Linked DNA regions of Homo sapiens: all the other regions are linked to region 4. The links are contacts of gene promoters, found by promoter capture Hi-C in human tissues and cell types (Jung and others, 2019). All regions are on one chromosome and are shown on one strand. The core of a region is centred on a gene start or on the middle of the fragment in contact, and the rest is flanking DNA. Distances in the headings are between cores, read along the strand shown.

Evidence for each region. Contacts are between HindIII fragments. The study calls those that stand out against the background at their distance.
Region 1: a fragment that was not itself captured here is called in contact with the fragment with the promoter of CORO6 in region 4 in 2 of the 25 tissues and cell types used here (dorsolateral prefrontal cortex and hippocampus).
Region 2: a fragment that was not itself captured here is called in contact with the fragment with the promoter of CORO6 in region 4 in 8 of the 25 tissues and cell types used here (H1 embryonic stem cells, bladder, dorsolateral prefrontal cortex and 5 more).
Region 3: a fragment that was not itself captured here is called in contact with the fragment with the promoter of CORO6 in region 4 in 1 of the 25 tissues and cell types used here (dorsolateral prefrontal cortex).

The regions. Positions count from the first base shown.
Region 1 is chr17:29,841,091-29,847,961 of GRCh38, forward strand. All of the region lies in intron 2 of SSH2 (slingshot protein phosphatase 2), which reads right to left. Among named protein-coding and RNA genes, the nearest start is that of SSH2, 86 kb to the right of the region's middle. The HindIII fragment of the contact is 4,094 bases long and covers 510-4,603 here.
Region 2 is chr17:29,785,394-29,792,112 of GRCh38, forward strand. The region is part of intron 3 of SSH2 (slingshot protein phosphatase 2); the gene reads right to left. Among named protein-coding and RNA genes, the nearest start is that of SSH2, 140 kb to the right of the region's middle. The HindIII fragment of the contact is 9,040 bases long and covers 1-6,719 here.
Region 3 is chr17:29,400,723-29,407,555 of GRCh38, forward strand. All of the region lies in intron 1 of TAOK1 (TAO kinase 1), which reads left to right. Among named protein-coding and RNA genes, the nearest start is that of MIR4523, 13 kb to the left of the region's middle. RefSeq lists an enhancer at 636-705. The HindIII fragment of the contact is 3,210 bases long and covers 2,055-5,264 here.
Region 4 is chr17:29,620,123-29,627,214 of GRCh38, forward strand. It overlaps CORO6 (coronin 6), which reads right to left and starts at 2,790. Exons shown (of 11, transcript NM_032854.4): 1 at 2,566-2,790; 2 at 1,102-1,362. The coding sequence starts at 1,299. SSH2 (slingshot protein phosphatase 2) reads right to left here. Exons shown (of 16, transcript NM_001282129.2): 16 at 5,816-7,092. RefSeq lists enhancers at 189-483, 3,391-4,590 and a silencer at 2,454-2,603. The HindIII fragment of the contact is 11,130 bases long and covers 1-5,412 here.

The DNA of each region.
Region 1 (6,871 bases), core at 1,307-3,806, 220 kb after region 4:
GAGGGTGAGTCAGTAGTGACTGAAAGGAGCAAGGAGGGATTGGCAAAGGGGGAAATAGTACTGAGGAGTTGTAATATTCCATTTCCTGATCTAGGTACAGGTTACTTACTTCATGATTGACCTGTGTTTGTGAAAACATCAGTTTGTGAAAATTCATTGTTATACATAAAAGCACAAGATAAGTACACTTTTCTGTATGTATATTTTACTTCAGTAAAAGTATAAAACACAAAGTATAAAGTGATCTTTAATTATTTTTTCTTTACTCTAGCTCCCTAGCAATGTTGACACAGGAAGAATAAGTCTTTATACCCTTTATACCTTATGGAAAAGACATGGAAAACTTTACCCTTCACTGACTTAAATTTATACTAGATTTGGATTATCTCATTTCAGTATCTTGCTTTTAACAGAAGACTAGCCAAGGAATTTCACTGAATAGAAAGAATGTAAGTTAATTGTGTTGTACCTGAGTAATCAAATGCATACAGCCAACTCTTAAAAAATTGTAGTCTATCTCACATTTTATCCTGCTGCTCAAGGAATAGATGTTACAATGTTACAAATGTTGCAGATTAGATTTCTAATATGGAGGTGCAAAAATTAGCATAGCTAGAGTTAAACCAGTGTTCTTTTTCTGTTTTTTCTTTTCTTGAGACAGGGTCTCATTCTGTCACCCAGGCTGGAGTGCAGTGGCATAGTCCTGGCTCACTACAGCCTCAACCTTCTGGGCTCAAGTGATCGTCCCATCTCTGCTTCCCGAGTAGCTGGGACTATAGGAGTACACCACCCCCTTGGCTAATTTTTTTTTTTTTTTTTTTTTTGTAGAGACAGAGTTTTGCTTTGTTGCCCAGGCTGGTCTTGAATTCCTGAGCTTAAGCGATCCTCCCGCCTCAGCCTCCCAAAGTGCTGGGATTACAGGTGTGCACCACTGTCCCCAGCCCAAACCAGTGTTCTTAACCCTTGATTCATATTAGAATAATCCTGGAAGCATTTAAAAAAATACCAATACCTGGGCCCTACTCACAGAGATCCTGATTTAACTGGAGGAGACCCTGTTATTAATTTAAAAGATCATCACAGCCAGGCGCAGTGGCTCATGCCTATAACCCCAGCACTCTGGGAGGCCGAGGCAGGTGGGTCACCTGAGGTCAGGAGTTCAAGACCAGCCTGGCTAACATGACGAAACCCTGTCTCTACTAAAAATACAAAAATTAGCTGAGTGTCATGGCAGGCACCTATAATCCCAGATACTTGGGAGGCTGAGGCAGGAGCATCTCTTGAACCTGGGAGGCGCAGGTTGCAGTGAGCCGAGATCACGCCACTGCACTCCAGCCTGGGCGACAGAGTGAGACTCAGTGTCAAAAAAAAAAAAAAAAAAGATCATCAGGTGATTCTAATGGGCAGCCACAATGAGAACCACTGAGTTAAATAAGGCTAATTTCAAAAATAGCCTTTGTACCCAAGATTACTACAAATCTTATTTCTCCTCAAATGTCACTCAAGAGCGTAAGATTTTTAAAAGAAAATTATTTCTCATAATAATTATTCTGGGATAAAATCATTGAGCTATGCTTTCTTACATCTTAACCTGGAACAAAATAAGTTTAACATCACATTCCTATTAGTGTAAATTTGCATCAGACCCCTTCCAAAGTAAAAAATAAGGATATTGTTCATGGTAAAACTATGTTTGCCACTAGCAACACTTTTTTTATCTTTTTTCTGACGATGGGCCCTAACAATCTCTCTACAATGCAGCAGAGGTGATGCAGAAACAATTCAAGTAATCCTAAACTCCTGTGGGGCAGCTGTTTGCTATTGGCCAACTGGCCATTTGAAACTCATAATAAAACTCATCTTCTTAGCACCAAATTTCCCTTTTTCCCCCCTTTTTCTATTTGTGTATGTTGGCTACTGAAAGGTGTTCTGCAAATGAGTCTGAAAAAATAAACAGAAAATACACATGGTACAGATAGCAGAAACGAAGAGAGTAAATACAAATTATCAGGAATGACAGGACGTGCTTGCTGTAGGCTTAAACACCATCCCCACCTTCCAGCTAACCAGTTTGTTGTTGTATCTGGATGTTCATCCACTACTATCTTGTTTTTGCTTATAATCTCTAGAGATTTACAAAAGTAGATTTAATTACTATAGCAGGCTGGGCGCGGTGGCTCACACTTGTAATTCCAACACTTTGGGAGGCTGAGGTGGGCAGATCACTTAAGGTCAGGAGTTCGAGACCAGCCTGGCCAATATGGCGAAACCCCATCTCCACTACAAATAAAAAATAATTGTTAAAAATAAAAAAAATTAGCCAGGCATGGGTGGTGCATGCCTGTAGTCCCAGCTACTCAAGAGACTGAGGCATGAGAATCGCTTGAATCCAGGAGGTAGAGGCTGCAGTGAACTGAGATCGTGCCACTGCACTCCAGCCTGGGTGACAGAGGGAGACTCAGTCTCAAGAAAAAAAAAAAAAAATTACTATAGCAGTTTCCCCCTCCTAAGTGTAGTTTTCCTTTCTGAGCTAACCATTGTTTTCATCGTTCCAATACACTACATTCCAAAACTTAAAACATACAAGAACAGGATATCTCAGAAGAACCCTGAGAATTGAAGTCCTTTCTATCTTCAATCTATAAGGACTGGCTACTCCACATCAGGCCTTGAATTAGGGTTTACCCTAATGTTGATAACTTTTAAAAATTCTTAAATCCTTCATCTTGAACTTACTATTAGGCTAAATCTTCTCTCTCTCTCAAGCCATTTTTCCACTCCCCAAATGACTCCATGTTAAAAATCCCATAGAAGCTGATTATCAACAAGGATATTGTATTCTGAGACACTGTCCTTCCCTAGAAGAGAATGCAGATCTATAGTCTAAAAATGTAAAAATATTCTAAACCAAATAATTCTTACATTTTAGACTTTCTTTGCATCTGCCTTTTCCACATTTGATTCTAGGGGGTGGCTTTTTCTTTTCTTTAATAACACAAAAGGCTAACATCTCTTCCTTTCACTGGGCTATTCAAACATAAAAGCTTTTTTCTGATTGCACAGAATATAATATTATATCCTTCAAGAATATAACAAACCAAGCAAAGGAATGAAACAGACCATAAAAATAGTATGACTATTCTATATATGACCTTCTGCCTGTTTGGTTGGGTAGGGGTTGGGGTGAGAAGACCAGGGAAATGAGATAAATAAGTTTTATTTTTAGGAAATAAACTAATATAACAAATATTTTCCTGACCACCAGGCTGGGGAAGAAATAGCCCTACAATGGTAAATGAATCCAGTTGTTCCTAGGAGACCACCCATAAGCACAATAATTGGAATCCCAGCTCATCCAGAGCTTCTTCCTCCTTTTAGGTAGGATAGCAGTGGGTACAGGAGAGGGAAATGAAGAGAAGCCTCAGGAGTCTCAGTGCCTGTTGCAGTCACTAGCATCCCAACCTGCTCTAGTCACTGCCTACATTCCTTCTTATCTGAAGCCAAGGTGAAACTCCTGCAGCTAAAGCCAGTATCTTCTTTCTCTGTGACTTCTTCCAGTCACACTGTTACCTTTCTCTGGGGGCAGACAGATCCTCTCCCCATTATGGAGACCTCTAACAAACCTGTGCACAGTAGAGGGAGCAAGTAGCTGCTTCTATCTATTATCTGGTTTCCTGGAGACTGAGTGGGATCAGAAAAGGGGCAGGGGCCTCTCTGCACTCCTGCCTTCTCTTCCAGGAAAGCCCCAAGAGATCTAAGGCAGCCAGCCCTCCAGCCAAATTGGCCTCCAGCCAAATTTATTTCCACTTATCCAGATTTCTTCTCTTCTTCCCACATACTGCATGTAATGATTTTCTCCTTTCCTTTTCAGGGCTTTCCACGAATAGCCATAAAACTAATTTGTGAAGTGTAGATTATACTTTCTCTAAGGGCCCCTACTCCCCTGGGCCCAGTGATTTGCACATGAGTCAATCAATACTTGGTGAATGAATGAATTATGCAGAAGCAAATGAATGAATAAAACTAACCAAAGTTCATACTTCTGTTATCCCAAAATTGAAGAGAAAGTTCTTCGACGATTGACTTTATCTTCTACTCTTCTTCTTTACATCAGTATTTCTACTTCAAATACTTATCAAGATCCCATACCACTTCCTTTGCAGAAAACTAAGTAATGGAGATTTCAATCATTTTGCTCTGCAAATAACTGCCCCCCACCCCACCCCCAAGGTTAAGGCTTCAAATTACAAAGAAGCTCTTCAATTCCATTTGACATGGGGGTGGGAACAGGGAAGTGAGAAAAGGGGGAAAAAAAGGTGTGGGAAATACTCCCTGAAAAAACAAAACAGGAGGAGGATCTAACACCTTTAAAAAGCCAGCCAAGTACATGAAACAACTTTTGCCTCTTGAGGAAAAGACGACAACAAATCTGACTTAAATGAATGAAAGGCTTGGCAATAAAATAAAGCAACCCAGAGTAATCTATAAATACATATACCCAACTAATTGTTTCTCTTTATTTTTTTTGGAGACAGAGTCTGACTCTGCTGTCCAGGCTGGAGTGCAATGGCATATCCTTCCGCCTTAGCCTCCCAAGTAGCTAGGACTACAAGTATGTGCCACCATGCCCGGCTAATTGTTTTATTTTCTGTAGAGACAGGGTCTCGCTGTATTTCCCAGGCTGCTCTTGAACTCCTGGGCTCAAGTGATCCTTTTGCCTTGGCCTCCGAAAGTGTTGGGATTACAGGCATGACCCACCGTGCCTGGCCCCAACTAATTGTTTCTAAGGGAGAAAAACCATTAAAACTAAAGTTACCTTTTCCCCACGCGTCCAACTTCATGAAAATATTCTTCATGTAGATTCCCATGCACTAGTCTCTTTGAGACAAAATCAGTCGAAATAATATGCCAGTATAATAAGTCCAGAGGACTCCACTGCAAACTGAACAATTTTTTTTTTTTTTTTGAGATGGAGTCTTGCTCTGTTGCCCAGGCTGGAGTGCAGTGGTGCAATCTTGGCTCACTGCAACCTCCACCTTCTGGGTTCAAGCAATTCTCCTGCCTTGGCCTCCCAAGTAGCTGGGACTACAGGCATGCACCACCACGCCAGACTTTTGTATTTTTAGTAGAGACGGGGTTTCACCATGTTGGCCAGGCTTTCTCAAACACTTGACCTCAAGTGATCTGCACACCTCAGCCTCCCAAAGAGCTGGGATTACAGGCATGAGCCACTGTGCCCAGTCTGAACAAAATAAATCTTATAGGATACCATATAAGGAGACTGGTACATATTCCATCAATGAGGTTGCCCACTGGTGATGAGCTCATGATGGCTATCAGCTGAGATTTCATGTCAGCACTGCTCCTGCTTATCACACAACACTGGACAAAGATTATAACCTTTCACCCTCAGTTTGTCATCTGCAAAATACTGATAATAAGTGTTCACATGGATTTATCAGTTAACGTTTGCAAGCACTAGGAAAATGAGCACCACTCCAGCTATTAATGAATCACAATAACTTAACTCATGCCATTCCAGATTCATCAACACTGAATGAAATGCAGTTGTGTAAATAAATACGTGAATGAGGTCCTGAAATGGTAACTGCATTCACTGTGACATGAAGATGAGGAAGCCAGCCTAAGTGCAGGTAGTAATATGGTGATATACTTGAGACACATCTTACTTCAAGAGATAGTTTACATTAGTGAAACTTCAACAATATGTATGGAGTGCTACTATGAGCAATAAATATCCTGATACAGACAATTCATTTTTTATGGTCAAGGTTTGTAGAACCTAGTTTTGGTGACAGCTACCTGTTGGAAGAGATCAAGTCAAGTAAAATTATAGAAAACAATCAAATCTGTAAAAAACAATACAGTTTTGAAATGTGTTATGATTCGGTTTATATAAACTCTACTTTTTAAAATTTGTGAAGTAGGATTCATTCTATACCAAGACACAGAAAAAAAATGTCCAAGTGGGAAAAAGGTTTGCTATGTTTCTAAACTTCAGTTTGATACAAGGCCATCTTGAACCTCTCATAAAATAGGGGGGAAAAATTCCAAGAGCGGCCCAGTCTCCTATGGGTATAACAGTCCAAAAATATGCTTGAATAAAGTCTTTCCTCACAGTGCCATCCCTAATCTGCACAAGCTTCACAGTAAAGGGCAGTACACCTTAAAAAAAATCAGGTTGTCACCAAGTCTTCAACTTAGAGCCAGTGAGAAGCAAATAGATAAAAATGTCAGGCATCTGGGCTGAAAGGTGAAGCAGAGGGCAGAGACCAGGGCCTCTCACAAAGAGCTGGTCCTCTCTATTTCTAATTTTCATTAATACAACTGGGACGGTGTCTGCATTTTTGTAGCCGACCCCCTCAGGTTTTTTTGAGGGAGGGTGGTGCTCAATAGGAGACAGTTATCTAAATGACAGTTGGAGAGCTCATTAGTTTTCCTGACCCACAACTCTTCCCTTCACTTCCCTCCAGAATACTTCCAACACCCCTTTAAGGTAGAACAATGTGTATGAACTAATAAGGCAAGAGTCCAGCAGGACTTGTTTTCTGGTCACAACACTGCTGAACAAAGTAGGATCTGTTCCAGATGGGATAAAGCAAAGAAACTGGCCAAAACCAGCAGACTGTGACAAGGGCAATCCCTGGCTGCCCTCATTGCTCATTAGCATGGACACTCCCACCAGCATCATGACAGTTTACAAATGCCATGGCAATGACCCAGAAGTTACTGCCCCTTTCCTAGAAAGTTCTAAATAACCCACCCCTCAATTTGCATTAACCTGCCCCTTAATTTACATGTAATTGAAAGTGGGTATAAGCGAGTATATATACAGTTGCCAAGAGCCCAC
Region 2 (6,719 bases), core at 2,409-4,908, 170 kb after region 4:
CAATCTTGTTCATTTTTATTTATCATCTTATAATTGTATTAGGTTGACCCATATGAGACAGCTGTTTACAGTTAATATGTTTGAATATTGGCGTTTCATTTTTTTTTTTTTTTTTTTTTTTTGAGACAGAGTCTTACTCTGTTGCCCAGGCTCTGGAGTGCAGTGGTACCATCTCTGCTCACTGCAACCTCTGCTTCCCGGGTTCAAGCGATTCTCCTGCCTCAGCCTCCTGAGTAGCTGGGATTACAGGAGCGTGCCATCACGCTCAACTAATTTTTGTATTTTTAGTAGGGATGGGGGTTTTGCCATGTTGACCAGGCTGGTCTCGAACTCGTGACCTCGAGATCCACCCACCTCGGCTTCTCAAAGTGCTGGGATTGCAGGCGCGAGTCACCGCGCCCAGTCCGTTTACTTTTTTTTTTTTTTTTTTAGACGGAGTCTGCCTGTGTAGCCCAGGCTGGAGTGCAGTGGCGCGATCTCGGCTCACTGCAAGCTCTGCCTCCTGGGTTCACACCATTCTCCTGCCTCAGCCTCCCCAGTAGCTGGGATTACAGGCGCCCGCCATCACGCCCGGCTAGTTTTTTGTATTTTTAGTAGAGACCGGGTTTCACCGTGTCAGCCAGGATGGTCTTGATCTCCTGACCTGGTGATCCACCCGCCTCGGCCTCCCAAAGTGCTGGGATTACAGGCGTGAGCCGCCGCGCCCGGCCCTGTTTACTTCTATAGTTATTTTCCTGGCTATTCCCCGGTCAGCAAAGTGGGTCATCACACAAGAAAAAGTTGAGTTCATAAATATGCAAAGGAAATACTGGCATCAAATTTCATCCATTTATCTTTTGACCAAATAGTGAGACAAACAGGTTGGAAAGGTTCCCTGGCAAAACTCCAGCCAGCCTGCATACTGAGGTGGAGCTTCGGGAAGTTCGCACAATTTGCATGGGGAGGAGCCTGGCCCCTCCTCTTCCTTTGTGAAACCTGGGATTCAAACTGCAAGGCAGGAAGGAACCAGCAGGAATTCTAGCCTTGCAGAAAGTCCCTGTTCCCCCTTTGTTTTCCTTTTTGCCCCATAAATCCCATTATTCTCACCCTTCAATCATCTGTGAGCCTAAATTTTTGTTGCCATGGGACAATAACTCTGTCTTTAGCTGAACTAAGGAAAAGTACTGCAACAATAGTCAATGATATAAAACCTGATTTTCTGTAATTATGTTATCTTTTTATGCCTGTCTTCTGAGAAAAAAAAAATATTGCTGGAGTTCAAATATCACAAAAAGGTGGCCAGCCATGGTGGCTCACACTTGTAATCCCAGCACTTTGGGAGGCTGAGGCAGGAGGATCACTTGAGCCCAGCAGTTTGAGACCAGCCTAGGCAACATAGGGAGACCCTGTCTCTACAAAAATAACAGAAAATATTAGCTGGGCATAGTGGTGCATGCCGGTGGTCTCAGCTACTTGGGAGGCTCAAGTGGGACTGAGCCCATTACTGTATCGCTGCACTCCCGCCTGTGTGGCAGAGCAAGACCCTGTCTCAATCAATCAATCACAAAAAGGGGCTAGTATGGCATAAATACATTGTTTCTTAATTGTGGTAAAATAAACATAAAAATTTCCATCTTAACTACTTTTAAGTGTACAGTTCACTGGCATTAAGTACGTTCACAATGTTGTGCAACCACCACCACTATCCATTTCTAGAACTTTTTTCATCTTCCAAAACTGAAGCTCCGTACCCACTAGGCAATAACTTCCCACTCCATCCATCCCCCAGTCACCATTATTCTGTCCGCATGAATTTGATTATTCTAGGTATCTCATGTAAGTGGAATCATACAGTATTTGACTTTTTGTGATTGGCTTATTTCACTTAGCTTAATGTCCTCATTTTTACCCACGTTGTGGCATGTCAGAACTTATTTCCTTTTTAAAGGCTGAACAATATTCCACTGTACATATAATACCTCATTTTGTTTATCCATTCATCGTTGATGAACACTTGGGTTGCTTCCATCTCTTGGCTATTGTGAATAATGTTGCTATGAACACGGGTGTATGAATCTCTTAAGACCCTGCTTTCAATTCTTTTAGGTATCTACCCAGGAGTCCAGAAGTGGAATTGCTGGATCATATGATCATATTCTATTTTTAATTTTTTGAAGAATCACCATACTATTTTCCATTGCAGCTATGCCATTTTACATTCCCACCAATAGTGCACAAGGCTTCCAATTTCTCCATATCCTCACCAACGCTTTATGTTGATAGTGGCCATCCTAATGGGTATGAGGTAGTATCTCACCGTGGTTTCAATTTGCATTTCCTTAATGATTAGTGATTTTGATTTTTTTTTTTTTTTTAAGAGACAGGGTCTTGTACTGTTACCCAGGCTGGAGTGCAGTGGAACCTTCTTAGCTCACCACAGCCTTTAATTCCTGGACTCAAGCAGTCTTCCCACCTCAACATTCTGAGTAGCTGGGACAGGTGTGTGACACCACACCTGGCTAAATTTTTTTATCTTTTGTAGAGATGGGGTCTTGCCATGTTTCCCAGGCTGGTCTCAAACTCCTGGGCTCAAGCAATCCTTCCTTCTCAGCCTCCCAAGTGCTGGAATTACAGGCATGAGTCACTGCATTCGGCCTTGAGCATCTTTTCATATGCTTATTGCTTATTTGTTTATCTTCTTTGGAGAAATGTCTATTCAAGTTCTTTGCTTATTTTTTAATTGGGTTGTATGATGGTTAATTTTATGTGTCAACCATCAACCTGACTGGGTCACAGGATGTCCAGTATTTGGTTAAATATTATTCTCGGCTTATCTGTGAGGGTGTTTCTGGATAATATTAACCTTTGAATCAGTAGACTGGGTAAAGCAGACTGTCCTCTCCAGTGTGGGTAGTCCTCACTCAATCTATTGAAGGCCTGAATAGAACAAAAGGCTGAATAAGGGAGAAGTTCCTCCTTCTGCCTTTGAGCAAGGACATTGGTCTTCTATTTTCGGACTCAGACTTGGACTCAGCAAATGGTGGACTGAGCCACCATTGGCTCTCCTAGTTCTTTAAGCCTTTGGACTTGGACTGGAACTATACCATTAGTTCTCCTGGGTTTCCAGCCTACAGATCTTGGGACTTCTCAGCCTCAATAATGTAAACCATTTACTTAGAATCAATTTCTTTCTTTTCTTTCTTTCTTTCTCTCTCTTTTTTCTTTCTTTCCCTCACTCTCTCCCTCCCTTCCTCCCTTCCTCCCTTCCTCCCTCCCTCTCTCCCTCTCTCTATATATATCTATCTATCTCTATGAGATACCCTTTTTGGTTCTATTTCTCTAAAGAACCCTGACTAATACAGATATTGGTCCTGAGAAATGGGGTGCTGAGGCTTTGAAACCAGGTAATGGGTAGAAGAGTTTTGAAGTGCATGCTAGAAAAAGCCAAGATTGCCATGAAGGGATTGCTAAAGGCAATTCTGGTGAGTGCTCAGAAAGGATAGAGGAGATCTGGAGAAAATGCTTCCATCTTCTTAGAGAATACATAAAGAACCACGAACAGAATATTTGTAGAAATATGGATGGAAAAGCCCTTTCTGACGAAGGCTCAGATGGAAACAAGAAACATGTTAGTGGACAATGGAGAAAAGGCAATCCTTGTTATAAAGTGGCAAAGAACTTGGGCTGGATTGTGTTTGTGTTCTAGTATTTTGTGGAAGGTAGAACTTGCAACAGTGGAATTGGACATTCAACTACAGTGGTTTCTAAGCAAAGTGGTGAAGGAGTGGTTTGGCTCCTTCTGGCTGCTATAATAAAATGCAAAAAGAGAGAAATGAATTGCAGAAGGAATAGTTAAGCAAAAGGGAACCAGAACTTACTTGGAACATTCTCTGCCTGTGCATATTGCAAAAAATGAGAAAGCATGTTTGGAAGGGAACACCAACAGTGTGGCTGACTGACCATATAAGGAGGGTAGTGTTGGTGTGAACCACAGGCCTAATCAGCCATCTCAATAGAAGCCAGGATAGAGAAGGGATTATGCAAACAGAAATACTGCCAGCTAGGACTAAGGGAAACAGAGAAAATGAAATGGAATAAAGGAAGACTGTGACTACGCATTATCCTTCAAGAAAGGGGAAGAAGGATCCCCCCAAAGGCAATTCAGTGATGATCATCAGGGCTTCTACTCTCATCACACCCACCATGGGTGGCGATCAGGGAGCAGGCTGTCTTCACTTCAGTTTCAAAGGCTAGGACCACTGGCAAGCAGAGTTGTGTGGGCAGGGCTCTTGCAGAGAGCCCTGTGGATGGCACTCCACTGAGCTGAAGGGGCAGGGCCACCACATGAAGCAATGAGGGTGACGCTGCCACTCAAGTGCATCTGGAGAGCAGAGCATCAAACCAAGAAGGATTATTTTCAAGTCTTAAGACCTAAGGGGATTTGCCTTGCTAAGTTTTAAACTTATTTGGGACCTATCAGTCCTACTTTCCTTCTGATTTCTACCTTTTGAGATAGGAAATCTATCCTATGCTTACCTCACCATGGTATTTTGGAAGTGCTTAATTTACCTGGTTTCACAGGTTCACAGCTGGAGAGGAATGTTGGCTCAGAATGAATCATTCCTGGTCTTACTTGTATCTGATTTAGATGATATAAAACTTTGGACTTTAGGCTTCAGAACTGATGCTGGAATGTTTTGTCTTTTAAAGATGTTGAGATGGAATGAATATATTTTGTGTATGAGAACATGAATTTTGTGGGTTCCCGGGCAAAATATTATGGACTTAATGCTTGTGCCCCCTGCTAATTCATATGTTGAAGCCCTACCCTCGAAAGTGAGGCGAGGCCTTTGGGAGGTAGTTAGGGTTAGATGAGGTCATGATGGTGAGCCCCCCATGACGTGTCCTTAAAAGAATAGGAAGAGACCAGAACGTGCTCTCTCTTTCTTTCTCCCCACCAAGTAAGAACACTGAGAGAAGGTGGCTGTCTGCAAGCCCGGAAGAACACCCTCACATGAACATTCTGGCACCTTGATCTTAGATTTCCCAGCCTCCAGGACTGTGAGAAATAAATGTCTGTTGTTTCAGCCACCCAGTCTAGGTATTTTGTTATAGTGGACTGACTAGGGTTTTGTTTTTATTGAGCTGTAGTTCTTTATATCCACATTCTGGATTTAACCCCTTATGATTTGCAAATATTTTCTTCTGTTCCATGGGTTGCCTTTTCACTCTGTTGATAGTGTCTTTTGATGCACAGAAGTTTGAAATTTTGATGTAGTCTAATTTATCTATTTTTGTAGTTATGGTTGTTATCTGTGAACAAAGCCATCATAGTTTGGTCTAATTGTACTGAAAGATTTTTTTTTTTTTTTTTGAGACAGAGTCTTGCTCTATTGCCCAGGCTGGATTGCAGTGGCGCAATCTCAGCTCACTGCAACCTCTGCCTCCCGAGTTCCAGTGATTCTCCTGCCTCAGCCTCCTGAGTAGCTGGGATTACAGGCTCATGCCACCACACCCAGCTAATTTTTGTATTTTTAGTAGAGACAGGATTTCGCCATGTTGGCCAGGCTGGTCTCAAACTCCTGACCTCAGGTGATCCACCCACATGGCCTCCCAAAGTGCTGGGATTACAGGTGTGAGCCACTGCACCTGGTCTGAAAGATTATTTTTATGACTTTGTCAATAAATGGCATTTGGTTAAGATTTATTATTATTATTATTATTAATTTTTGAGACGGAGTCTTGCTCTGCTGCCCAGGCTGGCGTGCAGTGGCTTGATCTCGGCTCACTGCAACCTCCACCTCCAGGATTCAACCAATTCTCCTGCCTCAGACACCTGAGTAGCTGGACTACAGGCATGCACCACCACACCCGGCTAATTTTTTGTATTTTTAGCAGAGATGGGGTTTCACCATGTTGGCCAGGTTGCTCTTGAACTCCTGACCTCATGTGATCCGTCTGCCTCAGCCTCCCAAAATGCTGGGATTACAGGCATGAGCCACTGCCCCTGGCAAAAATAACAGATTATTAATGCAATGTCTTCTTTGTTACCTGGAACTGGCCTTTAGTTTTAATGATATGCTGTTTACTATTTAATTTCCTACTACAAGCTACATTTGAACCCACAAACTGACAAGATGAGTTCAGGCATGCTTAATGAAATGATTCAATGCTGGTTTATTCTGTGGTGAGTGATGGAGAACTCTGAACAATCTGTAGCAGTCAAACATACAAAAATCAATCTCTTACATACCGTATAGCTACAAGGGGCATTCAACTGGCAGGTAAGATAAGTTTCTTTGCTTCGAGTCGGACTAAAGCCTTTAGATTTAGAAATAGCTTGGCAAACACACTAAATGTAAGACATTATAACAGATTAGCAAATTTTGATTTTTTAATAGTTGCTACTAGGTTTTTTTCATTTCTTATTTTTATAAGTAATCCTCTTGTGAATAGAAGAAGCCTGCAAAAACCCTCTGCTGGTCAAAGTGACAAAGTATTGCCAAAAACTTAAAAACAGGTCTTTATGATTCTTCTTCTTCCTCTTTTTTTTTTTTTTTTTTTTAGTAAGACAGAGTCTCACTTTGTTGCCCAGACTGGAGTGCAGTTGTGTGGTCTCTGCTCACTGCAACCTCCACCTCCTGGGTTCAAGTGATTTTTCTGCCTCAGCCTCCTGAGTAGCTGGGATTACAGGCATGCACCACCATGCCTGGCTAATTTTTTTTTGTATTTTTATTAAA
Region 3 (6,833 bases), core at 2,410-4,909, 220 kb before region 4:
GGACTTTCCCATAATTTTTAGTTCCTCTAAGCCAGTGCTTTCAAACTTTAGTTTGTGATCCATTAATGGCTTGTAAATTCAATTTAGTGAGTCACAATAACAATTTTAAAAAGTAATGGGGAGTGTCAGTGTGGTGCATAAAGTAAGGGTAAACATTATTATGGGAAACTTTTGTTTGCCTCTTTTTTTTTTTTTTTTTTTTTTTGATGCCAGGGTCTTGCTCTGTTGCCCAGGCTGGAACGCAGTGGTGTGATCATAGTTCACTGCGGCCTCCACCTCCTGGCTCAAGTGATCCTCCCACCTCAGCCTCCTGAGTAACTGCGACTACAGGTGTGCACCACCACACCCGGCTAATTTTTGAAAAAATTTTTTTGTGCAGACAGGGTCTTGCTATGTTGCCCAGGATGGTCTCAAATTCCTGATCTTAAGTTATCCTCTTGCCTTGGCCTCCCAAAGTGCTGGTATTACAGGTGTAAGCTATTGTGCTCAGCAGTTTGCCACATTTTTATATGTTCTGGGTACCCAGTTACACTGTTATAAAGACATACCTGAGACTGGGTAATTTATAAAGAAAATAGGTTTAATGTGCTCACGGTTCTGTGGGCTATACAGGCATCTGCATCTGGGGAGGCTTCAGAAAACTTACAATCATAGCGGAAGTGGAAGTGGGCATATTTTCCCATGGTTGGCAGGAGAGAGAGGGAGAGTGTGCATGTGTGTGGACACGCAAGCGAGTGAAGGGGGAAGTGCTACAAACTTTCCACTTTCCAACAACAGTAGCTCTTGAGAACTCACTATCAACTAGAACAGCAAGGGGGAAATCCACCCCAATGATCCAATCATTTCCACCAGGTCCCTCCCCCAACTTTGGAGATTACAATTTAACATGAGATTTGGGTAGGGACACAGAGCCAAACCATATCACTTTCTTTTTCTTCTCTTTTTTTTTTTGAGACAGGGTTTTACTCTGTTGGGAGGCTGGAGTGCAGTGGGGTGATCATGGCTTGCTGAAACCTCTGCCTCTTGGGCTCAAGCAATCCTCCCACCTCAGCCTCCTGAGTAGCTGTGCCACCACGCCTGGCTAATTTTTGTACTTTTTGTTCTTTTTGTTTGAGACGGGGTTTCGCCATGTTGGCCAGGCTGGTCTTGACTCCTGGCCTCAGGTGATCTGCCCACCTTGGCCTCCCAAAGTGCTAGAATTATAAGCGTGAGCCACTGTGCCTGAACTAAAATTTCTTTTTTTACCTCATCCCTTTTACTTCTAATCTTCTGTCTCTGAAGTATGCTTGTTTTAGTTTGCTTTTTCCTTTTTCTTTCAACAACTCTCCTTCAATCTCTACTGATTCATCTGTAGTCTATTTAGTCGTTATATTGGGTATATTTACCTTTCCTAGGTTTCAAAGCTTAGGAGATAGCAAGGACTTTGCCTAAAAGGTCCTGGGCAGGGTACCAGTAGTTTTGGATAATCATGGTAACTTCTGAGGTTTTTGTATTAAGGAACGTGTTATCAGATATCTAATGTCACACACTATGTGTGAGTGCAGTTTCTCATGAATTGCAGAATTTTAAAAAAAGAAGACTTTCTATTTAATTTTTTTAAGACGGTCTCAGTCCCCTTCCCTATGCTAGAGTCCAGTGGCACACAATGATGGCTCACTGTGCCTCTACTTCCCGGGCTCAGGTGATCCTTTTACCTCAGCCTACCAAGTAGCTGAGACTACAGTCATGCGCCACCATACCTGACTAATTCTTTTGTATTTTTTGTAGAGATTAGGTTTTGTCACATTGCCCAAGCTGGTCTCGAACTCCTGAGCTCAAGCAATCTGCCTGCCTCAGCCTCCGAAAGTGCTGGGATTACAGGTGTGAGCCACCATGCCTGGTTGAAAACTTTTTATTTGGAGGATATTAAGAAAATATCTTTTATTTTTATTTTATTTGGGGACATATATAGATTTGATTTAATTGAAATACGTCTGTTCATAAAATTATTATGTGACTAATTAAGTATATTAAGTATATTTTAAAAATGCCAGGCCAGACGTGATGGGTCATGTCTTTAATCCTAGCACTTTGGGAGGCCGAGGTGGGTGGATCACTTGAGGTCACGAGTTCAAAACCAGCCTGGCCAACATGCTGAAACCCTGTCTCTACTAAAAATACAAAAAAATTAGGCCCGGCGCAGTGGCTTACGCCTGTAAGCCCAGCACTTTGGGAGGCCGAAGTGGGCAGATCACAAGGTCAAGAGATCAAGACAGAGCAAAACTTAGTCTCAAAAAAAAAAAAACAAAATTAGCCGTGCATGGTGGCGGGCACCTGCAATCCCAGCTACTAGGGAGCCTGAGGCAGGAGAACTGCTTCAACCTGGGAGGTGGAGGTTGCAGTGAGCCAAGATTGTGCCATTGCACTCCAGCCTGGGTGACAGGGCAAGATTTTGTCTCAAAAAAAAAAAAAAAAAAAAAAAAATCAGTGTGCTGCAATGTGTTACATCTAACCATAATATTTATGTTTTAGTTGATGTTTTTAATTCACTCATGGTAGTAGTTACAAACCTCTAGTTTGTATTTTGGATTGATTTGTTACAATTTATTCCCATTGAGGCTGAGAAAGAGGTTTCAGAAAAGGTTGATGAACAGCATTACTAAACAAGGTCAAGGTTTTTCCGTTTTTAGACTTGGGGAATTTAGGGTTACTGAAAATTGGAAAAGCTTTGTCTTTTTGCCAAAACCATCCATATCCTTGATTGTACTTGATAAGGAAACTTTGCTCTTCCTTGTTGTACAGAAACTTTGTATAGTATATGTTGTTTTATTTAATATATAGTATTTAAGTAATCTCCTGCTGCATAAATGGTAGATGATGATGATGTTTTATAGGGCTCATTACTTGATAGGAGTATGGTATTTCAGTTGGTTTTATTTACTGGAATTAGAGTTTTGAGTCCCAGAGGGGCAATATAATGTGCTCACTTTCAGATTCTTTTTTGTTTTTTGTGTTTCTTTTCAGACAGGGTCTTGCTCTGTCACCCAGGCTGGAGTGTAGTGGCACAATCACAGCTCACTGCAGCCCTGACCTCTTACACCGAAGCAGTCCTCATACGTCAGCCTCCCAAAGTGCTGGGATTACAGGTGTGAGCCACCATGCCTGGCCTAGATTCTTTACTTTGACATGTCGTTATTAGTGATAATGATTTTTTAATTCTCTAGAAAAGTACAAATAATTTGAAAATGGAGTAATTAAAAGATCATTTTATCTTCAGCTTAGGTAGTGAAAAAGTATTTTTGTGTTTTATGTGTGAATGTCTAGTTCTATAAAATAATGCCATTAATCTTTAATCAAGAATAAAAAAGTTGGCTGGGCATGTAAAAAATAAAACAGTGTTGAGATATGAAATATTTCTGTGTGTGTGTGGGGGGGGATTTTGTTTTGTTTTGTTTTGTTTTTGAGACAGGGTCTTACTCTTTTAAGAACCTGTTGTAGGACTCCAGACTGGAGTGCAGTGGTAGGATCACAGCTCACTGCAGTCTTGACCTCCTGGGCTCAAGTGATCCTCCTGCCTCAGCCCCACAAGTAGCTAGGACTACAGCCCTGTGCTACCACACCCAGCGAATTTTTTGTATTTTTAGTAGAGACGGCTTCACCGTGTTGCCCAGGCTGGTCTTGGATTGCTGGACTCAAGTGATCCACCCAGCTCAATCTCCCAAGGTGTCAGGATTACAGGCATGAGCCACCACACCTGGCCTGAAATATTTGCTAAAATAAGTAAAATAACTATGATATAAAAACTTTTGGCTAGGCATGATATCTTCCGCCTGTAATCCCAGCACTTTGGGAGACTGAGACAAGGGGATCGCTTGAGCCCAGGAACTCAAGACCAGCCTGGCAACATAGTAAGGCCTCATCTCTACTAAAAATAAAAAATTAGCCAAGTACGGTGGCATGTGCCTGTGGTCCCAGCTACTCAGGAGGCTGAGGCAGGAGGATTGCTGGAACCTAGGAGGATGGAGTTACAGTGAGCCATGGTTGTGCTACTGCATTCCAGCTTGGGCAACAGTGAGACCCTGTGTCTAAATAAATAAATAGGTAAGTAAAAACTGTTTAATTTTTTGACAATATGTTAAAATACACTACCATTCTGTATTTTAACATAAATTTTATTAGATTCAAGTTAGGTGGAATGATAGCCAAGATTTTAGTATCCATTATTTTACTCTATTTTATTCAAATGGCACTATGATATGAGTTCAAAAAATTTTTGAAACAGTGTCCTTTGTTTTGAGATGGAGTTTTGCTCTTGTTGCCCAGGCTGGAGCGCAATGGCATGATCTCGGCTCACCGCAACCTCCACCTCCCAGGTTCAAGTGATTCTCCTGCCTCAGCCTCCCAAGTAGCTGAGATTACAGGCATGTGCCACCAGGCCCAGCTTATTTTTGTATATATATATTTTTAGTAGAGATGGGGTTTCACCATGTTGGTCAGGCTAGTCTCAAACTCGTGACCTCAGGTGATACACCCGCCTTGGCCTCCCAGAGTGCTGGGATTACAGGCGTGAGCCACCTTGCCCTGCTGAAACAGTGTCCTTTTAAAAATGCTTTCAGAGCACAGTCATTAAGCCAGTTGGTTTACTCATGCTGCAGTAAATTTGGAAATAAATTTCAGTTTAATACTCTTTTGAGATATTCACATAGTTATAATTTGTAATTTGTTGGTATGTACTATGAAAACACCAAGTCAAGATAGTGATTGATGGAATTTGCTTTTAAAGACCACAAGTTTAGGCCAGGAGTGGTGGCTCATGCCTGTAATCCCAGCATTTTGGGAGGCCGAGGTGGGCGGATCACCTGAGGTCAGGAGTTTGAGACCAGCCTGGCCAATATGGTGAAACCCCGTCTCTACTAAAAATGCAAAAATTAGCTGGGTGTGGTGGCTCTCGCCTGTAATCCCAGCTACTCGGGAGGCAGAGGTAGGAGAATTGCTTGAACCTGGGAGGCGGAGTTTGCAGTGAGCCGACATCGAACCTCTCTACTCCAGCCTGTGAGACAGAGTGAGACTCCATCTCAGAAAAAAAAAGACAACCAGTTTAGCCAGTAAGTTATGTAGCTTTCATATCAAAGTAAGATTCAGCAATGACATACGTATTTCTTATATTTTTTGAGTGCAGCATTCTAGGCAGTGTGGTTATTAAAATAGGTTCAGTAATGACACATCTGTATTTATTAATACATTTTTTTGGTGTGTTATTTTGTAGATACTGTGCCAGTATACAGAAATCAGTAAGACTTGATCCCTCCCATTTTGTAGTTTAGTAGGGATACAGGCTTGCAAGTAAATACATACAATAGTGTAGTGCAGGGTTTCCCAACCGTGGTAGTATTGACATTTTGGGTAGGATAATTCATTGTTGGGGGGATCTGTGCTATGCATTATAGCATATTTTGCAGCATCACTGGCTTTTACCCATTAGATGCCAGTAGCGTCACCCCTGGTTGTGATGATCAAAAAATGTTTCAGGTATTACCAAATGTCCCCTAGGGAGCAAAATCACCTGATTGAGAACCATTTATTTAACTGTTATACAGGTAGAGTTAAGGGGTGTTTAGGAGTAGTGACTCCTGAGGGAGTGAGATTTTATATGGGTCTTGAAAAAAAAATAAAAGTACAAAGGGTATTATATACCTGAGAGCATGAATGATCAATATTGAAGAGGGTGATTACTGATCATATGTGGCTATAGGTTATTTATGTGATTTGGGATGGGTATTTGGTAAAATGAAGCTGAAAAGGTACTTTTGGGCCATATCTTTTTTCTTTTCTTTTTTCTTTTTTGAGACTGGATCTCACTGTTTTGCCCAGACTGAAGTGCAATGGCACAATCACGGCTCACTGTAGCCTTGCTTGACCTCCCTGGCCCAAGCAGTCCTCCCACCTCAGGTTCCCAAGCAGCTGAGACCACAGGAGTGCACTACCCACCCCCCCAACTAAGCAGCTGGGAGACTACTGGCATACACCACCATGGCCAGCTAATTTTTGTAGTGACAGGGTTTCTCCATGTTGCCTAGGCTGGTCTTGAACTCCCGGGCTAAAGTGATCCTCACACCTCGGCCTCCCAAAGTACTGGCATTACAGGTGTGAGCTACCATGCTTAGCCATTTTTCTTTTTTTAAAACTGTTTGAGGTATAATTAATGCAGCAAAGTGCATAAATATGAAGTGTAAGCCTGTTGAATTTTTACAGATGTGTATGTTCATGTAACCATCACAAAGAACAAGATAGAGAACATTCCTAGTACCTCTTACAGTTCTTTCTTTTTTTAGATACAGGGTCTTGCTCTTTTGCCCAGGCAGGAGGGTAGTGGTGCCATCATAGCTCACTTCAGTCTTGAACTCCTGGGCTCAAGTGATCTTCCCATCTTAGCCTCCTGAGGAACTAGGACTGACTATAGGCACATACAGGAATGGGGACTTGCTGTGTTGTGTAGGCTGGTCTTGAACTCCTGGCCTTAAGCCACTCTCCTGCTTTGGCCTCCCAAAGTGCTGGGATTACAGGCATGAGACACCATGTCTGACTGTCTTCCTTCTTAAAATTTGTATTTTACTGGTTGTTCTTTCTTACTGCTTTTAACAGTAGGTGTCTCTCAACACAATGCTCTTCTCTGTCTCCCTCTCTTCCTGCTGCCTCCCTAACTCCATCCTTTATACCCAATTGCCTGACGGAGATAATCTTTTTTTATTTTTATATTTTTTTGAGACAGAGTCTCACTCTGTCACCCAGGCTGGAGTGCAGGGGCACAATCATGGCTCACTGCAACCTTGACCTCCCCAAGTTCAGGTGATCCT
Region 4 (7,092 bases), core at 1,540-4,039:
TCTCCTGGTGGAAGAGGTCAAGGTGAGATAATAGTGTAGTGCTGGACAGCCCTTTCCTGGCCTCCCTTGGCAGATCTCTTCCTTGTGAACCACTTTTACCTTGGAACCACAAGCAGCAAGCAGTCCTGGTGCCTACTATCCCCAAATGGGAGCTGGGGGCCCATCTATTTTTTGGTCTTCACAGGCTGCTTGTGGGGGTTCTGAGACCTCTGCAGGGGCAGACACTGGTCCAGACCAGGCAGCGGGGGAGAGGGTGGCTATGTGGTACTGAAAGAGCAGACATATTGGGGGAGGAGGCAGCTCCGGCTGAAATTTGAGCCCTGGGGCTGTGTCCCAGGATGATGTCTGCATTGTCTGGGGTGAGTCACTGGCTTTTTCAGGCCTCTTCCTGACCCCGCCACCTGTGGAGCCTACCCTAACAAGGTGTAGGGGCCAGAATCCAGGTCAAGGTCATACCTTGGGGGTTGGGGGAGAGTCATCCTTGGGATGTGGATGGTCAAGGGGCTTAAGGTTATGAAGCTAACGTGGTAGTCATTGCCTGGTCCCCATCCTGAGGGTAGGGAGGGCTCTGGCTTTATGTGTCATGTCCCCCTTCCTTTCCGTTCCCTTTCTTTCTACTTCACTGCAAGTGTCCTTGGAGGTAACCAGGGACTCTTTGGATAGAGCCTGACCCTGTCCTCAGTTTGCTGCTCTGGGATGTGACTTAATCAAATGGTCATCTTGGGCTAGGGAGGAGGTTCTCCACACCCAAAACATGAGGGGATGCGGCATTAGGAGAGGCAGTGATGGAATCTGGCCAGGCTTGGCTGTGCTGTGTCCCAACCATCTCCATCACCCGGCTCCCCTCCTGGTCCCTGCTGGGAATGGGGTGGTGCATGGAGAGGTGGGAGGGCTAGGGAGTGGGAGTAAGCCACCCTGATGTTAGGGTGGGGTGGGGTGGCCTCCCCTCTGGTCCTTGAGGGCTTGGGGAATAGGGAGGAGCCAATCCACACAGATGCTTCTCCTGACTATGGAATGGAACTAGGTGAGAACAAAGGCTCAGGAGTTCCCAGGGGCCCCAGCTAGTGTCCTCCCACTTGCTTCCTTTCCCTGATCCCTCACCTTGGCCAGAGGCAGGACGATGAAGGCACCCCCGCCTCCAGCCTCCACAATAATGGCCAGGAATTTGGGGTTGACGGCACAGAAGGAGCTGTCCCATGTGACCTTGGACACACGGATGTCCTCGTAGGCCTGGTCGGCCTTTGCTGCCTGCCCAAACACATGGCGGAACTTGCTTTGCCGAACCACACGTCTGCTCATAGCTGCAGGCAGAGAGGTAGGATCTCAGTGCCCAGAAATGCCTTTGGTCCTTAGTCCTGTGAGCTGCGGGAGGGAGGAGGAGTGGAGGGGTGGCTGATGAGAAGGGTTATGTGGTCAGGAGTCAGGTATAAATCCATATAGTGTCTGGTCCTAGAAGCAGGGAGCTTTCTTCAAGGTGGTCAAAGTATGGGAAAGTTATTTTGCTGTGTAAAATGCTGTTTAATGTAAGTGGCTAGGATTTGGGGCCTGAATTCTCCACAGAGACCCAGGCTGAGGGGATTGTGGAGCCTAACAGACTGAAAGCTTTCTGGACGTTGGAATGTTTTTGGGAGGAGCCTCAATGCCACACTGCCTGCACCCCCCGCCCCCACCACCGCCAGCCTTGATGAGCATCTCTTCACGGACGTGGTTGTAGCTCCCAGAGGCACCCTGTCCAGAAGCAGAAGACTTGACCATTGGATCTTGGCTTAAAGCCAGGTATGGGGCCAAGACTGCAGCCACCACAGGATACCGAACTCGCATCTCTGGAATAGTTCAGGCAGATGGGGTTTTGCCTTTTCCTAAAATTTTGCCAAGGGGGAAGTTCCTCCTGTCCACCAATCTGAGTCCTTTCTGCTACTGTTTTCATCCCATGCCTTGTGGGGGGACGGGTGGCAGCACAGAGTGAGGTGGATCCCTCTTCTCCCACTCCTTTCTGCACTGGCTTCTCCAGGAAGCCCTGATCATGGTCTTCTGGCTTTTGCCTACCATAGGCTTGTCCGGTTTCTCCTCTGGGTCCTCTGCCCTGGTTGGGCCTTCTTCCTAGTGAACTCTTCTAGGGGTGGGGTCTTCAACCCCATCCTCCACCCCTGCCCCCGCCACGGCCAAGCCAGATTTGCAGGGGTGGGGAGGGTGAGGTGCCTTTTCTCCAGCTAGGGTCTCCCTAGAGGACACACTGAGCACTCCCAAAGCCCCAGCCAGTGGCTCCTGCCCCACCCCAGCCCCAGCATCCGTGTGCCCTTCAAGGCGCGTCTGCGGCCCCGAGCCTGAGGCCCGGCCTCCCTGCACCCTTCTTCAGCCTGCTGCCCTGACACTGCGTTCTTGCGAGACGAGGTGTCTGCGCCCTCCGGGAGCGCTGGCTGCTGTCCGGCCAAATATAGACACCACGTCCTCCCCGCCCGAAACCGAATTTGGCGGCGCGGGGGGAGGAGGCGCAGACCTCTGCCCCTCAGGGACCCCGCCCGCTCCGCTGGCTGCGGTGACGGCCGGGTGTGGGGGGCTGGGTACCTGGTCCTGAGCGGGCTGCGGGGCGCTCACGCTGCGAATCCTCTGCGGAAGGGGCCCGAGTGCGTAGGGGGCCGAGGAAGGCTTCAGGGCGAAGGAGCCACCTCTCCGGGTGTCTGTAGTATCTGGGACCCGGGTGTCCAGCTCCGCACTCTGGCCGATCCTGCGGCTCTCTAGAGCCCGGCGCCGCTGCAGCCCCAGCTGCCGCTGCCATCAACCTAAGAGGGCGGGGCTAGCATAGGGGCGGGGCCAGAGCCCAAGTTGCCCCGCCCCCTCCAGCGGCGGGAAAGTCGAGCGACCCCGACTCCCCTCCCAGCTTCCGCCGGCCTCGGAGAACCATCGAAAATAAATGTGCAGCTGTGTGCTAGGTGCGCACGCTGCTTCCCTCCCTCCATGACTCCCGGGTAGGCTGGGGAGGCTCGGGTTCGCAGACCTAGAGCAGGACGCTTGGAGAGGGAACGGGCGAGGGGGCGTGCGCCCCTAGAGCGGGCAGCCGAGGGAGACCAGGTGCCTCCACCCGCATTCCAGCCTCAATCGCGCTCCCAATTTAGCTGTCCCGATCGGCCGGGACTGCGGGACTGCACTTCCAGGCCTCCCTGGGGGAAAGAGGCCCTAGAGAATGAGGACCCAGGCTGATCCTGATGTAGGGCAAGTGAGAGGGCACCCGACACAGGGTTGTGAATGTTAGTTATTGTTATGAATGGCAATAGCGATCATTTGAGAAACCTAAAATGCTGGCTGTGTGCTAGGCATTTCACCCCATTAGATGAGATTCCATGGAGCAGGGCAGGAAGCAGCTGAAAGAACAAGGGGAGGACCGAGTGTAAAGTGAACCCACCTTGACACTCCCTCCCCTCCCAGATGCAGGGGGAAGAGGCTAGCACCGGTCTCTAGTCACATTTTAGGGGTCAGAGAAGCCAACTCAGAGGCCAGACTCCTAATGTTTTCTGGGCCTTGTTTGAATTGGCGCCCGACTGTGTTCCAGGTAAGCTTCCCCCGTCTCCCCCAATATTCACAGAACTGAATGTTGACCGAGGTCAAGGAGATTAAAGATAACCTGATCAAAATACAGCCAGTGAAGACCAGCCAGTCCCGTAGCTCCAGTCTACCCAGTGTCTGCACATTGCCTGGATTTCTTCCCTTGGATCATAAGGGCATCTGGGGCCAGTTATTACTTCCCACCCTCCAGGGCACACCTGGGAGTGAGTGAATGGAACACAGCCTTCTGAAGGGCAGGAACCAGCACTGGGGAGGAAAGGGAGGGAAGGTGGTAGAAACCATGAAGGGCCCACGAGGCTCCTTTGTTTCTCAGGAAGAGTCCAGGTGGCTTGTAGGGACAGAATCAAATCAAGAGTCAGTGGCTTGTAGGGGAACAGAATAAAAAACTGTTACGAGTGCTCCAGAAATAACTCCTGGCGTAGGGGTGCTGGGGCAGGGTATGAGGGTATGTGAGTCATCTCTCTTTTACCTAAAGATTCCAGGCACATGATTAGGAGGAAAATACCTGAGTGACTCAGTTGCTCCTTTACAACAATAACCCATGCTTATGTGCTAGGCACTGGCACTAAGGGCTTTATACGTATTAATTTCATACTCTTAACAATCCTCTAGGCTGGTCGCGGGTGGCTAACGCCTGTAATCCCAGCACTTTGGGAGGCTGAGGCAGGTGGATCACCTGAGGTCAGGAGTTCGAGACCAGCCTGGCCAACATGGCAAAACCCCATCTCTACTAAAAATACAAAAATTTGCCAGGTGTGGTGATGCACACCTGTAATCCCAGCTACTCAGGAGGCTGAGACACGAGAATTGCTTGAACCTAGGAGGCAGAGGTTGCAGTGAGCTGAGATCATGCCACTGCCCTCCAGCCTGGGTGACAGAATGAGACTCTGTCTCAAATAAAACACACGCACAAAAAACCAAAAAACAATCCTCTAAGGTGGGTACTGTTGTTATCCCTATTTAACAGTTGAGGAAATGGAGCCACAAAGAGGTTAGGTGGCTTACCCATCACAACCTCAACTGGTAGTTGATGTAGCTATGATTCTTACCCACGTGGTCTGGCATCTGGTTCTTGCTTTTCAGCAGCATGCATTTCTGTCTCTCCCTGAAGGACAGTGCCACTTTATCTCACAAGTGCTGAGCTAAAACGTAACTGAGAGTTTATACTGTGTGGCACAGAGGAAAGGATGCCTGGAATGAATTAAAAAACTGGTTCCAGTCCTGGCTCAATCGCCATATTTTTACAGCTCTCTGAACAGGATTGGGTCAGATTCTTTCCAACTCTGCACCACTCCTTAGCAGAGTAGGGATTTTATGTGCTGCCTCCTCTGAAGTGGCATCTCCCCTACCCCCACCCTCCTTCTCTTTAAAGAGAACAGGAGACTCCCTTCTAGAGGGAAGCGCTTGGGACTAGGAAGCAGGAATCCTTCAATGCGTGCTCCCTTCAGTTCCATCATCTAGGAAGAGCAGTGCTTTCTGGGTACAGGGATTCAGATATTTGCTTGGGCCTGGCGTAGCTCAGCCCTGCCCTCTAGCCTTCTTCTGGCTGCCAAGGCCTGACAGAGCTGTGAGTGGGCAGAGTTAAGGCAGGAAGAACCAATCAGGGAGAGAAGCTACTTGGGCTTCGTGCCTCCCTTTTGAACTGTTAGCTCTGAACGGCAATCCATAGAAGACAGCCATGGATTTCATCTTTTAGGAAGCCATTTTCTGGATGAGGTAGCTCGCAACTTAGCCATGATTTGGTCCATCTGCTTTGGCTAGAAAACCAAGACTGAACTTATCTAGATTGGTCAGGGATCCCAGGGATCCTTAGAATATTTTGTGAAAGACCTTACCTTCACCGTCATGCACTCCAGCTAAAGACCAGCACTGTGCCCCTCCCACTTGATATGGATGATTCAGAATGAAGCAGGCTGACTTTAGTTCAAGGCAGTGATTTTTTTTTTTGAGGGGGGCGGGGACTTCAAATTTTGTTAGCAATTGGGAACTGGAAACTGAGCTCTCCCTAGATGGTAGTCCTGCCTTGTATGTGATGAATGGCACCACTAAATATCTCATGATGTTCATGTCCCATTTCTAGACATTTTTCAGTGGGCTGAGGTGTTTCATTTATTTCTGGGGACTCAGCTCTCTCTTCAGGGTGACATGACTGGGATCAATCATTGAAAACTACTGGTGTTCACTGTGTTTCCTCTTCTGACTCTCCCACCTTCTCCAGCACCTCCCTCCTTTGTTGCATCTGATGAAGTACACGTTTCATCTTCAAAATAAAAATTTATTCAATCTGTAACAAGAACATTGAATCTGCACATTTGCGCACAAGTTCACATTTAAAAACAGTGGAGCATATCTGTAATAAAAAAATCTATGATACAAGTGGAACATCCCAACCACCAGGAAGATTAAGGAAGGAGATGAGACCACTCTATATTCTGCTTCAAATGCCTCAAAAATGTCCCAGAGATTCCAGGGAGCACCTGCTTTAATAAAACATGAGCATAAAAGTTTGGGGTGGCTTGGGGCAAAGGTAACAGTCAGAGGAGAGTCTTCTGGACTTGTTTTCCATGTTAGAACAAGTCCTACAAAACAAAGCAGAAAGAAAAAAAAAAAAAAAGAAAAGTAAAGGCACCTTTAGATATGCCAAGCAAACCAAAATCCAACAGAACATAAAAATCAAACATTTCCCTGTGGGCTTACTGATTGGGAAGCACTTCAGGGCCAGTTACCCAGTTTTTAGTTTGGGTATTAGCTCTGCATGTGTACACAGGACGCTGCCACCAGCATTGCTTTGAGGACACAGACGGCAGCACCAGTCAAATGCCTCTTAAGGGATCTTCAAGGTGATTAAGGATGATTCCAGTTTAGAAATCCTATCCTAGACCTCTGGGGCACTGAGAAAATGAGGCTGGTTATCTTCTCATAGCAGGAGCCAGGGCCAGTCACCCTCCATTTCCAGGCTGGAAAAGTACAGAAGCACCTTGCAATAGCTCTTCATGACGTCAAGGGACCCCACACCCTGGGAGAAGGGTTAGGAGTGTGCAGCTTCCTGCTTTGGTGGCAGGCCTTTTCCTAATATGGGTGTCAGAGGAGTTGAGGCAGCAAATATGCTTGTGTCTAATACATGCCTTGATCTTTTAGTTTGGAAGGGAAAACAAAGTCCAAGATGCTTTTAAGTTGGATTGATGCTGAAACAGCTAAAATTTCATCTTATCCACCATCAAAAAGCAAAACAAAATTAAACAAAATGACACTAGCCATTCACCATTACAACCATCACTATAAGACACACCATCACTGAGGAAATGACAACTATTTCCATAGAGAGTGCTGGATGGGAGGGCAGGACACAGACGGAAGTCAGCTTCAGCGTATACCCACTTACTCACAAGGGCTGACCATGATGGCCCTGCTCTGCATGAGGACTCACAGGACAGCCAGGGCACTGATGCCTGCAGGACTGCATGGCCGACAAGATGATGCACATTTTAATATTCAAAATGTAAACAAAGTATCCACAAATAGTCCAAAAAA